Regions from separate parts of the Homo sapiens genome. Here regions 2, 3, 4 and 5 are each linked to region 1. The links are contacts of gene promoters, found by promoter capture Hi-C in blood cells and fetal thymus (Javierre and others, 2016). All regions are on one chromosome and are shown on one strand. Each heading gives the region's core, a stretch centred on a gene start or on the middle of the fragment in contact. The rest is flanking DNA. Distances are from core to core; before and after follow the strand shown. Region 1 holds the start of LEPR (leptin receptor). Region 2 holds the start of ALG6 (ALG6 alpha-1,3-glucosyltransferase). Region 3 holds the start of GADD45A (growth arrest and DNA damage inducible alpha). Region 4 overlaps SERBP1 (SERPINE1 mRNA binding protein 1). Region 5 overlaps ATG4C (autophagy related 4C cysteine peptidase).

What was found. Contacts are between HindIII fragments. The CHiCAGO score rates a contact against its expected background, and 5 or more counts as called.
Region 2: a contact is called between the fragment with the promoter of ALG6 here and the fragment with the promoter of LEPR in region 1, in 6 of 17 cell types (non-activated CD4 T cells, naive CD8 T cells, total CD4 T cells and 3 more). The highest score is 10.5, in non-activated CD4 T cells.
Region 3: a fragment that was not itself captured here is called in contact with the fragment with the promoter of LEPR in region 1 in 4 of 17 cell types (fetal thymus, naive CD4 T cells, non-activated CD4 T cells and 1 more); the score reaches 11.1 in fetal thymus.
Region 4: a contact is called between a fragment that was not itself captured here and the fragment with the promoter of LEPR in region 1, in 1 of 17 cell types (total B cells). The highest score is 5.3, in total B cells.
Region 5: a fragment that was not itself captured here is called in contact with the fragment with the promoter of LEPR in region 1 in 1 of 17 cell types (naive CD4 T cells); the score reaches 6.9 in naive CD4 T cells.

What each region holds. Positions count from the first base shown.
Region 1 is chr1:65,419,048-65,421,990 of GRCh38, reverse strand. It overlaps LEPR (leptin receptor), which reads right to left and starts at 1,323. Exons shown (of 20, transcript NM_002303.6): 1 at 1,251-1,323. LEPROT (leptin receptor overlapping transcript) reads right to left here and starts at 1,323. Exons shown (of 4, transcript NM_017526.5): 1 at 1,251-1,323. The coding sequence starts at 1,266. RefSeq lists enhancers at 820-869, 943-1,476, 1,477-2,009 and silencers at 1,240-1,739, 1,760-1,829. The HindIII fragment of the contact is 9,332 bases long and covers 1-2,379 here.
Region 2 is chr1:63,366,277-63,369,074 of GRCh38, reverse strand. It overlaps ALG6 (ALG6 alpha-1,3-glucosyltransferase), which reads right to left and starts at 1,448. Exons shown (of 15, transcript NM_013339.4): 1 at 1,388-1,448. RefSeq lists enhancers at 879-988, 1,849-1,988 and a silencer at 1,169-1,648. The HindIII fragment of the contact is 8,093 bases long and covers 1-2,798 here.
Region 3 is chr1:67,682,273-67,685,215 of GRCh38, reverse strand. It overlaps GADD45A (growth arrest and DNA damage inducible alpha), which reads right to left and starts at 15. Exons shown (of 4, transcript NM_001924.4): 1 at 1-15. RefSeq lists silencers at 102-161, 172-351 and a cis regulatory region at 2,114-2,606. The HindIII fragment of the contact is 1,492 bases long and covers 925-2,416 here.
Region 4 is chr1:67,426,779-67,429,874 of GRCh38, reverse strand. All of the region lies in intron 1 of SERBP1 (SERPINE1 mRNA binding protein 1), which reads left to right. Among named protein-coding and RNA genes, the nearest start is that of SERBP1, 2.1 kb to the left of the region's middle. RefSeq lists an enhancer at 300-936. The HindIII fragment of the contact is 686 bases long and covers 1,393-2,078 here.
Region 5 is chr1:62,784,425-62,787,157 of GRCh38, reverse strand. All of the region lies in intron 1 of ATG4C (autophagy related 4C cysteine peptidase), which reads right to left. Among named protein-coding and RNA genes, the nearest start is that of ATG4C, 1.7 kb to the right of the region's middle. RefSeq lists a silencer at 2,546-2,733. The HindIII fragment of the contact is 826 bases long and covers 1,035-1,860 here.

The DNA.
Region 1 (2,943 bases), core at 74-2,573:
AATAACTTCTCATTTATCTTTGTATCCTAAGTCTCTGGCATACAGTAGTTCCTCAATAAAAGTTGAACAATCTGTAAAATGCTTCCTTCCCTTAGTCCGTTTCCATTTCAGACTTCCTTTTTTTTCACTACATCACAATTTTCTAACACATTCACACATAAACGTGATCATGATTTGGTAGTTTCTGATCATGTGTAGTACTGAGACACTACTTTTCATCTGTTTTCGGCATTGGCTTCAAATGGATATATAACACAGTCGACACTCTCCAAGTAAACCATGTTTACTAAACTGATATTAAGTATAAAAGTCAGCCAGAAATAACGATAAAATGTCTGCTGCTAACAGCTCACATACTCGGATAAATTCATAGTGAACAGAGGCGTACTCGTATATATACTATCTACATGTTTATAGCAGATGTTAACTGGGGATATCTTTGGGTGCAAATTTCAAGGATGATATAAAAGCCAATATAAAAACAAGTCATGCTACTCTATTCGACAGATTAGAAATGGAATGTTTTCCTACCAAAATACAGGAAGCCTTGCAAAAAACCTTTTCCGTCTCGCATTGCTCTGAAGCCATACAGATAAGGGACGCGGTGTTTTTACCAACTGCCCCATGCAAAAAACACATACTACACACACACTGGTTTCTTCTCTGTCCATAAACAGAGAAAACACCGAAGAAAGCAGTATTAAAATTACACGTAATCTACTCTCCACGACTGCGAGAAACACCGTCTTTCTGGGTGCTTTCCATTGACACCCGCCCGCGGTCAACTCTGCCCAGTTGGAAAAATCATTAGGAAAAAGAGGATTAAGTTTCCCAATGCTAAGAACGCTGGAGACAAAGGGTCCTTTGTGGCAAATAGGAAACTGCGGAGGGGCAGAAAACCAGAAGAAAGGCGTTAGGGTGGCGTCAAGAAGTGGAAACCTTGTTTAAAAACTCAGGAGAGGTGGAGGGCGCCGCTCTCGCCGAGGGCTCAGGCTGGGGAGGGGTCTGGTGCCGCCACTGGAGAGCAGGAAGGCCAGCGGCCTTGCAAAAAGGGCCAAGGCTCCCCCGAAACGCCGCTCCACCCACACCCCAAGGGACGAAGGGAGCGGTCGATCGCCTCCCGAACCGGAGAGGCGGGAAGGGTGGTGAGGCCGTTCCCCAACGGCGCGCGGAAGGCGCAGCCCCAGGCTTGACCGGAACGGAGGTGGCAACCCCACCACACGACAAGCGAGCCGGGGACCGCGATGTACCTTTAACGCCCGCCATGTCTCCCGAACTGGGGCCGCGGCTGCTTCCGGCTTCCTGCCACGGCCCGGGCAGCCTGCCCAAGCCAGACCGGGAGTCGCCCCGCGGATCCCGAGCCCGCCCCGGCCACGCAGAGCCCCGCCCCCGCCGGTGCAGAACTCCGACCTTAGCTCGCAAACGCGGCGCCTGCTGCTCCAGACCCCGCCCCCACCACTCACAACCCCGCCCCCGCCGGTGCAGAACCCCGCCCCCAGCTCGCAGAGGCCGCGCCTGATAGTTCAGACCCGGCCTCGCTACTCAGAGCCCCGCCCCTGACAGTACAGAGCTCCTCCCCTACCTCGCGGAGGCAGCGCCTGCGGCTCCAGACCTCGCTACCGCTACTCGAAGCCCCGCCCCAGACAATGCAGAGCTCCTCCCCTAGCTCGCGGAGGCCTCCCCTGCTGGTCCCGCCCCAGCCCTCACCGGCCCAGAATTCCGCCCCCAACTCTCAGAGGCCGTCCCTGCTGGTCCCGACCCCGCCCCCGCCACCCAGAACTCCGCTCCTGCCAGTCTAGAACTCCGCCCCCAGCTCGCAGAGTCCATCTCCAGCCCTAAGGTCCCACCTGGTCCCACAGAGCTTTCCCAGAGTAACCCCAACCCAGTGCCCTGGGCCCTCCTCCTAGATCCTGAGCCCTCCAAGTAATCCTCAAGCCCGTTCAATGTGGGTTGGGACCTTGGCTCCGCCCCGACCGCGGGCCCAGAGTCTCTCCCCGGCCTCTCAGAACGCAGTGCACGCAGCGGGGGATCCTCCCTGAGCCTTCCTGAGAACGGAGATGTAGAAAGTGGGGAGAGGCAGGAGAGGGAAGGAGGGGAAAAGTTGCAATCGATGGGAGAGGGACACCGACTCACTAACCAGTGTTATGTTCCCTGAGCTCCCAAGTGCGTGCTAGTGTGCGAGTGTGTGCCTGTCTGCCTTCACATGACTGTGGCAGAGGAGAGGCGGGGTACCAGAGGACAGGCCCCTTAGGAAACACTCCTCATTAAGAACTTGATATTTGCATAGGTTTGCTTTGCTTAATAGCAACGCTTTACTGAAACTAGCGGGGTTTTTCTTTACTCCCTGGTTTATTTATAGAGACGAAGACCATATAAGCTTTTGTGTCCGAAGCTTTCATGAACCTTAAAAAAAAAAATAAAAAAAAAAAGCTATTATTTTTGTGCCTTGGGGCCTCAAAGTTTGCAGGTAACCAAGGCCAGTTTTTAGATCTCTGAGAGCCATTGTGTACTTATCTTACAGGAATGGAGAGTTCTGTTTTGGCAAAAGCAATCTAGAAGATCATTGAAACAGTCTGGTCCAAATGCTTCAACTTACATTTAAGGAAAGAGGTGCAGAAAGGATAGGACTTGCCTGTCACACAGCTCTTTGGAGGAGGTTGGATTCTGGGCCACTTCCCCTCATTCTAGCTGAGATCCACTCTACCTGATGGTGCCGTCCCTCTTCTCTTGCTTTTTCTCCGTTTTCAAAAGGACTGAAAGACAAAGGAATCTGTGGAAACCTAGCTTCCCCTGGCTACCTGAGAAGTATAAATTCTCACCACCATCATGTTTCATGATCCTTGCTCAGTTTACTTTTTCAAAATTGCACATTGAGCATGTTACTGTTTCAAGAAATGTCTATTTGTTGATTCAGTGGAGTATTTTTCTAGCTGTCAGTTTATT
Region 2 (2,798 bases), core at 199-2,698, 2.1 Mb after region 1:
ACATATCATATGGTTCCATGAAAGGTTCATAAATAGGCAAAACTAATCTATGGTGTTAAAAATCAGGAAAGAGGTTACCTTTGGGGAGGAAAGAAGGGATGGTGGTTGGGAGGGGTGCCCAGAGAGGTGTTCTGAAATGCTGTGAATCTTCCTTCTTGATTTGAGTAGTGGTTAGGAAATGTGTTGACTTTAGGATAAATTAACAAGTTACAACTTATAATTTGCGTACAGTATTTTTCTATATGGTATATTCCAATTTAAAAAGCATAAAAGGGGCTGGGCGCAGTGGTTCACCCCTGTAATCCCAGCACTTTGGGAGGCCGAGGCAGGTGGATCACCTGAGGTCAGGAGTTCGAGACCAGCCTGGTCAACATGGTGAAACCCCATCTCTACTAAAAATACAAAAATTAGCTGGGCGTGGTGGTGCGTTCCTGTAATCCCAGCTACTCGTGAGGCTGAGGCAGGAAAATCGCTCGAACCCGGGAGGCAGAGGTTGCAGTGAGCCAAGATCGTGCCACTGCACTCCAGCCTGGGCGACAGAGCAAGACTCTGTCTCAATTAAAAAAAAAAAAAGTGTAAAAGGAAATTACTTGGATGTGTTGACTAAAGGCTCCCTGTGAGCAGGGATCCTCCTGTCTTAGTCGTTGCTCTCTGTTCCCCACTTGTAGAACAGTGTTAGCAGAAGGCAGGTACCCAAGAAGTATTTGCTGAATGGAGCTGTGTGCGTCTGTGTGTACGAAGCGGGGAGGTACCCTAATTTTACTGAGCCCTGTGTGGTTAAAGATATTATGCGAGGCTTTTAACGACTCTCTTCTGCTTAAACCAGAAAAAGGGTTATTTGCGACTTTTTCCACCTGTAAATCAGAAAACAGTAATTTTCTAACCCATCCACTGGCCACGAAGTTGCTAGGCAGGCAGTAGATGCGCTTTTCGTCCTCCTTTGCCCTGACGGTGCATCTCGACAAATGCCAAGCCCGCCGTCCCCATCCCAGAACCGACTTTGCTCCTTTTAGTCTGAAAGGTCCTTCCACCGCAGTGGACACAACACCGGGGAGTGCAGCTATCCCGGGCGTGTATATGGGGCGAAAGGGATCCCTTCTCGCGTTTCTCCGCCCCTCCTCTTGAGGGCCAGGCCCTCAGAACCGCAAGGACAAGGGTGCCAGGACCGCCCCAGCCTGCAAGTGCCACCACTATCACCGCGTCCCCTCACCCGACCCACAAGCGACCCTGCAGGAAGGGCTGGGGAGGCCTCGCGTCGCGTCCCTGGGAGTGGAGCGGAGCTGGGAGACGGGTCGCCAGCTCTGCGCCGGCTCGTGGCGCGTCCGAGCCCCCGGCACCTCCCCACACTGGCCTGGGGTCCGGAACCTCCGGGATCCCATGCTCTTACCCCGCCGCCCGCCGGCCGCTGGGATTCGCGCCTGCCGTGGGTCCCAGGAAGGCGCATGCGCGCTCGCCCCCGCGGCGGACTGCCCCTCCGGCCTTCCGCCTCCGTGTGCCCGCGCACCACCCGCGCGCCCGGTGCGGGAGCGAGCCCGTCGAGCGTGAGGGGAGGGGCGGGCAACCTGGCCTGGACAGGAGGCGGCCGGCTTAGGAGGCGGGGCAAGAGCCGATGGAACCCGAGAGGTCCCCAGCCCCGGGTTAGGCTAGGGGCAGGTGGAAAGCCCCTTGCTCTTCTTTCCTGGGATCGTGGCCAAGGCCGGAGCGGCTGCTTAGCCAACGGATTCCTGTCAGGGGCGGGCCCTGGCTTGCTGCACTGAGCAGAGAGCCTTGGCCGGTCCTCACCACCTCTGGGCCTGTGCCCTCGAGGAGCCAGAAAGCCAACCTGCTTCACTTTCTTCTAGCCACATGCCTGCGAAGAAGAAGACTGGGCAGCCCCCTAAAGTAAGAAACATTGAACATCCAACCATTTGCGAGAGCCTGTGCGTTGTGCAAAAGGACAGCCCTGCCCTCGAGTAGCCACTACACGTGCCCCAGCGGGCAGCTTGAATCACCTGGTCCCAAACTTGCCAAAAATACCTATCTAGTAAGTTAGTAAGACCTGCACACTTTTCCTTTTGCATTGATCCCTTCCTTTCCAGTTCCACTATTTCCATCTCAGTCTAGGCTTCTGTCCAATCACGCATGGACGGCTGTGATGATTTTTACTTGCCTTCCTTTGTTCAGAGAGTGCCCTCATTCCCCACTTCTGAATCTTGCCATTCTACGTAAGCCAACCCCTATAATTTGTAAGTGTTAGCAAATATTTGGCTAGGACTATGGCTTTCTACTGAGTCTGAATAACTTCTCTCTGGGCCTCAGTTTCTTCAACTGTGAAAGAAATCAGTAGGGCTAGGTGAACTTCCAGGTCTAAAATATGATTATATCTAAAAGACCATCAGCACTGGGAATATGGAGAAATATGGCAGGTCCCTGCCCTCAAGGCATTTAATTCTCATTGGAAAGACATTTTTATGCATAAAAGGATAAAAAGCTATAGAAGGAAACACATACTAAATGTTACATTACTTACATATGCACTAAGCACTGTAGGAGTTAGGAGAAGAGGGTTCACTGTAAACTGCAAACCATCAGGAAATGCTTTTCCTGGAGGAGTCAGCTGAGCTTTGAAGGAAAGCCTGGCTGGATAAGCCCAGAGAATGAGAGTAAGAATCTAGACAAAGGAAATGGTTCAAGCCAAATATTGTGGCAGCTGAAAAGTGTAGAACATTTCCTCTAGTTTAGGTGGTGGGTGATGAAGCTGGAAAGGACTGGTAATTGTAGAGAGCCTTGAATACCAGGCTATGGTGTCTGGAATGTAT
Region 3 (2,943 bases), core at 421-2,920, 2.3 Mb before region 1:
TGCCTACCAGCCACTGGAGGACAAAGGGCCCCGCTCTCCGGGGTTATCCTGCCAACCCTCAGCCAACCACCTTCCGCCTCATTTGCATGCAGCTTGGCCATTGGGCTATGCAAATCAGCCTGCTCCAGCAATTTGACCCCAGCTCCTGGAGTCAGGTTGAGAGGAGCGGAAAAGGGAGGAGCCACGCGGGAGGCGAGCCGAGGGGGCGGGGGCGGGGGCGGTGCCGAGAGGGGAAGGCGGGTCCCGCGCGCACTCTTATCCGGTTGGCGGGGACCATTGGGAGTGGGGGGCTTTAGCAGAGGCTAGAGGTGGCCTCAGCTTGGGCTGAAGCAGGCTGCCAAGTGTTTTTCTATAATAGTTGCGGCACTTTTTTCTTATTATCTTTTCATGTCTTTTGTTTTAAGGGGTGGCTATTAAAATCTATTTCCAGGGTTAATGCACTGAAGTCTAGTAATTATTAGTAAGCAGGTTACATTAAAAAAGTGTCTCCAGACCTCCGGGGCAAAGTTTACCTCAGAAGTGTTGTTTATCTAAGTCTAGGCGAAGCTGCTTATTAGCAGTAGTATTATTTCGGTGCCCTGATGGCTGGTTTGATTTATTTTTGGAAAGCTGCAAGGGTTGGAAGCTGAAAAAAGAAAAACCAACCCGTTTGTATTCAGGGATGGCAGGGAACCAAGTTAGAATCTTTTCCACAGAAAGCAGAACGGTTTCCCACCTGCCCGGTGTAACTGGGAAATCGTGAGCTGGTCTGCGTGGGGAGCTGGTGACCACATGTGGGAATCCCTGGCAACCCAGATTCTCCTTTCTCAAAGAGCCTTGCCCAAACAAGGATCCTTCTGGACGCCCACCAGCTGAGAGACAACCATCTGACACCCACACAGCCCACAAGTCTAAATTCAAAATGCTCTCGATATGCCCTAAGCTTCCTTTCCTAACGTATGTATGTCGTTACCTTCCACAGAGAGCCTCCTATGATCTCACTGTGAATTATTGATGTTAGATGCTGAATCATGAAGCTGTAACTATAGGAAGTTTTTAGTCATATGCTAAAATTTCACCTTTGAGATAATGGCAACTTGTAGGTGGAAAGCAGACCTTTAAAACTGCAAATGGTAGTTACACATTTTTGAAAAACAAACTTTAATATATAGACTCTCACTGAGTAGTTCAAAAGTCCCTTCCTTTGTTTTATGGTTTATGCAATAAAAGCAAAAACATTTCTTAAACCTACTGAAGTCATCAAAAGTGGTGAAAATGGCTCCCACATGCTTGCATTCAAAACAGTGCTTGCATTATTAAGGTTGCTGTACAGCCAAAGGTCACAGAAGTAATTTCTGCAAAGGTACCTGGAAGTTTTGCACCCTTATGTTTTTATCACTCTAGACAAAATATTCTCCAGCTCTCTTGATCTTAATTTGGTGGAAAAGAAAAGTGATAGGTTTTCTGGTTCATTTATTTGAGTTGTCATTTTGCACTCATTTTTTCACTGTGTTGTCAGCCATGGACAACATTTGAGTAAAGAAATGGTCATGGTCAGTGCATAATTCACCTAAGCATGACTATGTATCTCATATCTATGCCTTAAATCTTAACATTTGATGTCTTTCTTAAAGAATTCCTCAACATTGAAATTTAGGTAGGTTACCGAAGCATTTTCAGTTTTGCAGACAAAACCTGAATTACACAATCTAGCCTGAGTCATCATTTGGCGATTGTTAATATGTTCCGTGGAACTCCAAGGTTCTATCCACTAGGCATTTCTTAGAGGTTCTTGGGAAGAAAATGTGATCACAGCAAGCTGACAAAGAATTAGGGAATCATGTGAGTTTCTTGACAGCAAGGACTTCATCAGTTTGGTGTCCTCAGCTCCTAGTACAATACCTGCATTTAGTAGAAGCACAGTCAAGGTTTATTGAGTTGAATAGAATTTGAGAGTTAAATAAGATATCAGAATCCTGCAGTCCTGTGCATTGCATGAATTCTAACATATTGCACATTTAACGTTAGTTCAAAAACACTTTTGCCTGTCTTCTTCTATACCAAGAACTGTACAATTCCTGGTCCTTTGCCTTTAAAGAGCTTAGGCTCTTATTGGTATGTCCATGCTTGAACTGGATTTTGGGACAAAATAGTATGCACTGTCATCAGCTAGCTATGCTGAAAGTCCCATGACTTCAGTCATCTGAATGGAGGCTGTAGGACAGTAGAACCGGTGTATTGTTTACACCAATTCAAATGAACCACAGTCCTAAAGTGCCCCACCCAAGTCGACTATATCCAGTAAAAATGTGATATCAAATGGTTACTTCTTATTATAGGCTTAGTCCTCCACTCAAAAATTATACTGCATGCTATATTTGACTTCATCAGAAAGTTATTTGCCCAAGTATTTTGGGGATTTTCTCTGAGATAAGCTTGGGCTTCCAGTATGCAAAAATATTCATTTGTCATACTTTCTGACTCAGATACGTTACATCATTTTGCCTGATTGCTGAGTATACCTAGAATGTTTTCTCAGTGATTATCTTCAAAGTTGGGCCTCATGACTGGAAGTAAAAACTGCATTTAGCTACACAGTTAGATTGTAGTTACACATTAGAATGGACATAGTTGATTTATCATTAACTGTTTATTAGTCCTGGAGGACATTGATAGTCAATGGTAAATCAGAGAAATTTTCCTATATCAATATTATATATATATATATATTTCTTTATAATCAGTGTGATAACTCCAATATGTGATGTCATTTTAAAAACCACTACAGGTAACTCTGACAACTGCCAAGTACACAGGAGTAGAATGCTCTTGTAGTAATGTTTGTAAAGATACCAAATGATTATATTTAGAAATCATATGGAAATATATACTCAAGAATTGTTCAATTATTTTAGCACTGCTACTTGCTTTGCATATTAAAGATCTTTTTGATATTTTAGTCAT
Region 4 (3,096 bases), core at 486-2,985, 2.0 Mb before region 1:
TATCCTCACGTTTCTTCACGCGACAAAAGTCCGGTCCTGCGAAGGTGCCAGGAGCGTGGTAGCCCCAAGTTCAAGCCACCGCCGGCGAGGTTCTCGGAGCCATCCCCTTCCCGCCTCAGGTTGTGAGCAGAGGAGCGTGGTCGGAGATGAGCTGCTCCTCGAGCGCGCTCGAGGTCCTGGGAGGCTGTTGCCTTCCCGCCGGATTCCTTGGCGGGTGAGCGCATGGACTGAGGTGCGGGGAAGCCGGCCCCTCACCGAAGCTTTCCGTAGTTACGGAGGAGCTTGGGGGTCCATCGCTGCTTACTGCGCAGAGCTGCTCCTTTGAGGTGCTGTTGTTTCAGGCTCCTGTCCTGCCGTCTTGTCCCACGACGGCGCGGAGTATCCCCGCTGAAAAGCAGGGGGTCGTTCCAGGCCATCAGACGTGTGGAGTAAGCTGCAGGTTGGGGTGCCGCATGTCCTTTATTTGTTTCTCTTCCACCTCTCAACTGTTAGGACTTTCTCATAACTTGCTGGGGTGAGTTGAGCCGTTGGGAAATGGAGGAGTTTGGCCACACTCGATTAACCAGGAGCGGGAATTATGAATGAAGACTGGTGATTGCAGGACATCCCGAGGAACGTCCTCGAGTCACGATCCTCTCTCTCGACTCCCCAAACTGAATCTTTCACGTGGTGGGGTCTGGGCCTCGTGGGTGAAGTGAGTGCAGAGGCTGTCACAGCGTTAGTCGCAGCAGAGCTCTTTAGAGTTCGCAGTTTTTTTTTTCCACCACATGTGCGTGAAGCATGGTCAGAGTTTCACTGGCGGTTAATAGTTGTTTCTAGGGCACTGTGAGTTTCACAGGATTGTCTTGATTTTTGCATTCGCTTTACCAGTTTGTTGCGGATGAAAAAAAAGAGCAAGCAGTTTGGAGATAAGAACGTGCATGATCAATAGCAAGCAGGTGTTGGACCTAAGGTCTGAATCTTTAAAGCTGCATTTATATGTTGAAAGTTGAAATTACCCCTTCCTGCCACGTGCTTCTCTGAAAGGAGTTGTTTCTCTTTAGCTTTAGTTGAATTCTGTAACAGTGAACTAATTTTAAAAATCAAAACAATTTTCTCGTGGTAGGATTTGTTTTAGGAGGGTTTTTTTTTTTTTTTTTGAGGACTTTTGTGAGGCTCGGAATGAAGAACCTCGGTCCTAGGTGGTGAATAAAAGAAAATAATTAATTCTTGTGGTAAAATTATAGGTTGAGGAAAAATACAGTTGGAGTATTAGAAAGCATGTATATCACTTAGGCCAAGTATCTCTTCAGCCAGTTAAGCTTTATGGCAATCTAGCACAATTAAATAAATCATTTAATTCGTGTGTTAAGTAACGCTGACTTGTGTAATTATTTAAACTATGCTTAAGCTTAAGAAAGTACACGAAAAAGTTGAATCTGACGAATAATGTGTACCAGGTAGATGTGTTCACTCATTTTGAATGTTCAAAACATGAAGCATGGTTTAAATGCCTGAGTTATTTTGATCATGAAGCCCATCTATGAAATAAGCTCTTACCTGAAAAGTAGTATTTTAAGTTAACAAATGTGGGGAATGATTTCATGAAGTTAGAACCAAGACTTAGGTTCACCGTTCAATGAGTCTTTCCATGGGAAAACTATTCCATGTTAGCAATCAGCATTTTCCTTAGGTCAGTATTTCAGAGCACTACTGTTAAGTTGCATAAAATACAAGCATGTAAAATACAGGAAAAGTGTTGAATGGACAATACCCGTTTTGAGATTCTACTGTCCTGATTACTGGGAATAAATCTGTAAACAAAGTCGCTGCATGTAGTAGGAAGGTTAACCTGATTGTGTTCTGTGATTTTGATAACACATTGTGACATAATACTTGACATACTTTAGACAGATATTTAATGTTTATGTTTTATGAATTAATTTTGTACATTCTCTTGCCCATTTGAAGAACTTGAGAATTGACAGCAGAATGTCATTGAGAGTGTAGACCAGGGATTTTCTAAAAAAGAATGAATGCCTTGAAACTAGTGCAGTTAGTGAGCTTGCAAGTTATAGATAAGTATATCAAAAGAAGCTTGCATTTTTAAATGTCAGTCTTTTTCATTAGGTAGGTTTAATACGTTTTTAAGATTCTGTAAACTTGATATTGGGTGGGGACGCCAACTATTGTTCACTTGGGTGTGTTTGGCTTGGATATTATTGCAAGGACTGGTTCCATAACTCCACCCCAGTGCACTTTATTACTGATGACATTTATTTAAATACCTTGGTGTAAGGTCTAATATTTGTAGTCTATCTTGAGTATTTACAGGGAATGAACTTCAAAATTCTATTGAAGAGATTGATAGTTACTGTTTGGCTCCAGTTAACAGGCAGCAGAACAACTGGGTGTGTCTTGATGGTGTTCTACTTTCTTAGAAAGAACCAAAGTGAAGCAGCTTAAAATCTTGTAAAACCAATTCCTCAGCTGCTTTATGACTTTGTCAGAAATTGGGAATTAGAGCATACCAACAATCTTAAAGTCATTAATTTAACCATCAATCTGTTGATCCTTATGGGCACCAATAATTTAAATTGGTTGCCTTTGTGGGGTTTCAGACATTACAGGAAAAAAGTAGTAAAGGGGGAAATTAGTAAATGCTTCAGCTATCACTTAGTGTCACAAGTTTTCTTATTTCTTACATGTTGCTTAAAAGCGGTCTTAACGTGTGTGTATTTGGTTTTTAAAGATTCTTTGAAAATAAAGATAGTTGTTAGGGCAAATTTTTTAGAGGACTCTCTCCATGCATAATAAGTAACTGTTTCCTAACTTGGAAGTACTTAGGGATGTGGGAGTGTGTACAAACATATATACACTTACATGCTATAAAATTTTAAACTTTAATAGGGGAAGATGGCCCTTTTTGTGTGCCTGTAGCTAAGAAGACCAAAAGATGACACTTTTTCTGGTTAAATGGCTGTTTTAAACTGAAGTGATGTTCTCTAATAATCCTAAATGCCATATTTTCCTTTCAGATTTGTAATTTTATAGAATTATGAGTCTTAATTGCATTTTTTTTTCAGATTAGATAGAATAACATAGTGCGGCCCTCAC
Region 5 (2,733 bases), core at 198-2,697, 2.6 Mb after region 1:
ACTGCTACCACAACAAAAAATACTAATAAACAAAGCATGTTTCCCAAACCTGGTCCTCTTTCGATGTTCTCTACCTCGGTGAAGGGTGCAACAATCCTTCCAGTTATATAAGCCAAAAACCTAAGATTAGCCCATGATATCTTCCTCTCCCTCACCTTCCATATCTAATCCATCGCCTAGTTCCACCTCCTGAACACCTCTGGAATCCATCTTACCACCACCACCTTGTCCAAAATACCATCTCTCAATTGGGCCACTCCAACAATCTTCTAACTGGCCTCTCCCCATCCCCACTCTTATCCCCTCTGTAATCAGTTCTTCCTCTGTGTAACATCAAGTCCTTTTTTAATAGCATTTACCACAGTTGTAACTTTAAATTTCTTTGACTATTTGATTTATGTCTGCCTCCTCTGTTAGTAAATTCTATGAGGGTAAACACCGTATTTACTCACTACTATACCACTGTGGCCTAGAAGAGTGTCTAGTTAATAAATAAATGCTAAATGATTGAATGCATGTCAAATATTACAATTTTACTTATATATAGTCCAAAAAATAAAAATAAAGTGCTTTATAAGGCTCACCAATTATTCTATATCACAGATTTTCACTTGTTTTTTTTTTTTTTGAGACAGGGTCCTAATTTCTACCTACCAATCCCTAACCACTATTTAAATTCCACATTAGATCTCATCTTCATGAAACATTCCCTAGTTATCTCTCTTCTCACCTTTAACATTCTAAAACACTCCCGTAAAATCTAATACATATTGACTATATTTTCTGCTTCTTGAAGGGAAAGTTTACATCTCATACATTCTGCTAGAGTATAAGCTCCCTAAGAGCAGGGACTTTTCTTGTTCACTCTATATCCCCAGCACCTTGAAGAGTGTCTGGTATGAATAGCTGCTCAGTAAGCATATGTTGATTTAACGCTCTTTATATATTTCAGGATAGAGCACAGATCCTTGCAGCTGTTGTACAGTGGGAAGAGTCGAAAAGAACTGAATTAATTTCCTTAAATTCTTCAAGCTTCAGTTTTTTCATCTGTTAAATGTAAATAATACTCAATAGCTTAGTTGGAATAACTGCGCTAATGCTTTAAAAGTATCTATGCAGAGCTGAGGACAAGAGGATACTCTTACAAACAAATGTTTTGGTGATTTTGTGACAATAGTTAAATAGTAAGTAGTCACTAAATTCCTACTAAATGAATAAAATCTCAGGAAAAATATTAAAAGATTGAGTAATGGCTACCGTATCATTTTTTTCAATAAAAAATTATATGAGTAAATTTATTCTGAAATATATTTCGCCCCAAATCTTAAGCATGGCTGAAACCATTTCAGCATTTTGTGCATTAATTAGGAATAATCCCAATTTAACATTGTACCAGTATTAATATTTATATTTTACTGACATGTATAGATCATACTTGATAGCTTAAAAAAGAATGATAATCTTAGTATAAGAACCTCTTTAGTGCAATAATTGGAATAGAAAACGAGCTGCAAACTCATTTGAGTTACGTGGTTCCCCAGAAAGCCAGAAAATTTCTGCCTTTTTATAAAACATTAGTGAACAGAATACGATGCTGTTCACCAGAACCATCAAAACATCTAGAAATACTTCATAACCAATCACCATAAATACATTTTTCCAAATACTTGAATCCTATTTTAAAGAAAAAGAGCATTAATTAAATGGCTTTTAATGACTTTTTGCTAAATTATACAATTCTTTAGATGGGCCACTTTTTGACATGTGGTTCTAAAAATTTTATAGCGAATGAACTGGTAATTCAATATAGCCTCAGATTATTGGACTAAATAGAAACTCTTCCTGTTCAAAGAAGAAGCTTTATCAATTTGAAACTCAGAAAATACATAGACTTTACCTTTCAAAGCCTTTCCACTCCCTCTGGGTATTCTCAATGGCTCATAATCTAATTACAAGTCACAAGCAAGCAAGAAGATCATTCCCTTGTCTCTTTCTGCCATCAACTGACACAAAATCATTGCCAAAAACCCACCGGGGACATATGGTCCGAGCAGGAAAACATAAGAAAACTCCTAAGTAATTCGGATATAAAAAGATGTAAGACGAGGTATTCTTCTGTAACTATAGGGTAGCAGTGAGCCCCATGTGGGTAAATAACCAATACAAAACGAAAAGGTAAGCCAAAGAAATCACAAGAAATATAAACTCAATAAGCAGTGATGCTGAGTTGACCGCTGAAGGTTCTCATATATGAATATAGTCATCATATGTAAGAATTTATTCTACACCTCCAACCTCAAAAGCCCTTAGATGTGGGTAGGGTTGGGAGAGTTCACGGTGAGCGGGAACCAAATGAAGTGAATGAACGTTAATATTTAGATGGAAAGGCATTAATATATGCAAGGCAGTGTGTTATGGCTTGAAGCAGTAACAAACACCAAAAAGGGAGAAAGAGGCTAGGAATGAGAACAGAGAGACAGTGGGGATCCAGTTATTATTATTATTTCCCTTTTTTTATTTTTTAAACGAGGAAAAACAGGGCCGACAGAGCACTGGCATGAGGAGGGGTCAAATGGATGCGATAGATCAGGGGAAAGAGTCTTGCCTGCAACATCTAAGAAAACCACAAGGAAAGGAGGAACAGCTGCCCACAGTTAGGCTTACGGTTTATCTCTGCAACCCAGGACAAAGCGAGGAAGAGTTAGAAGACAAATGACACTAGAAAGGAGAGAC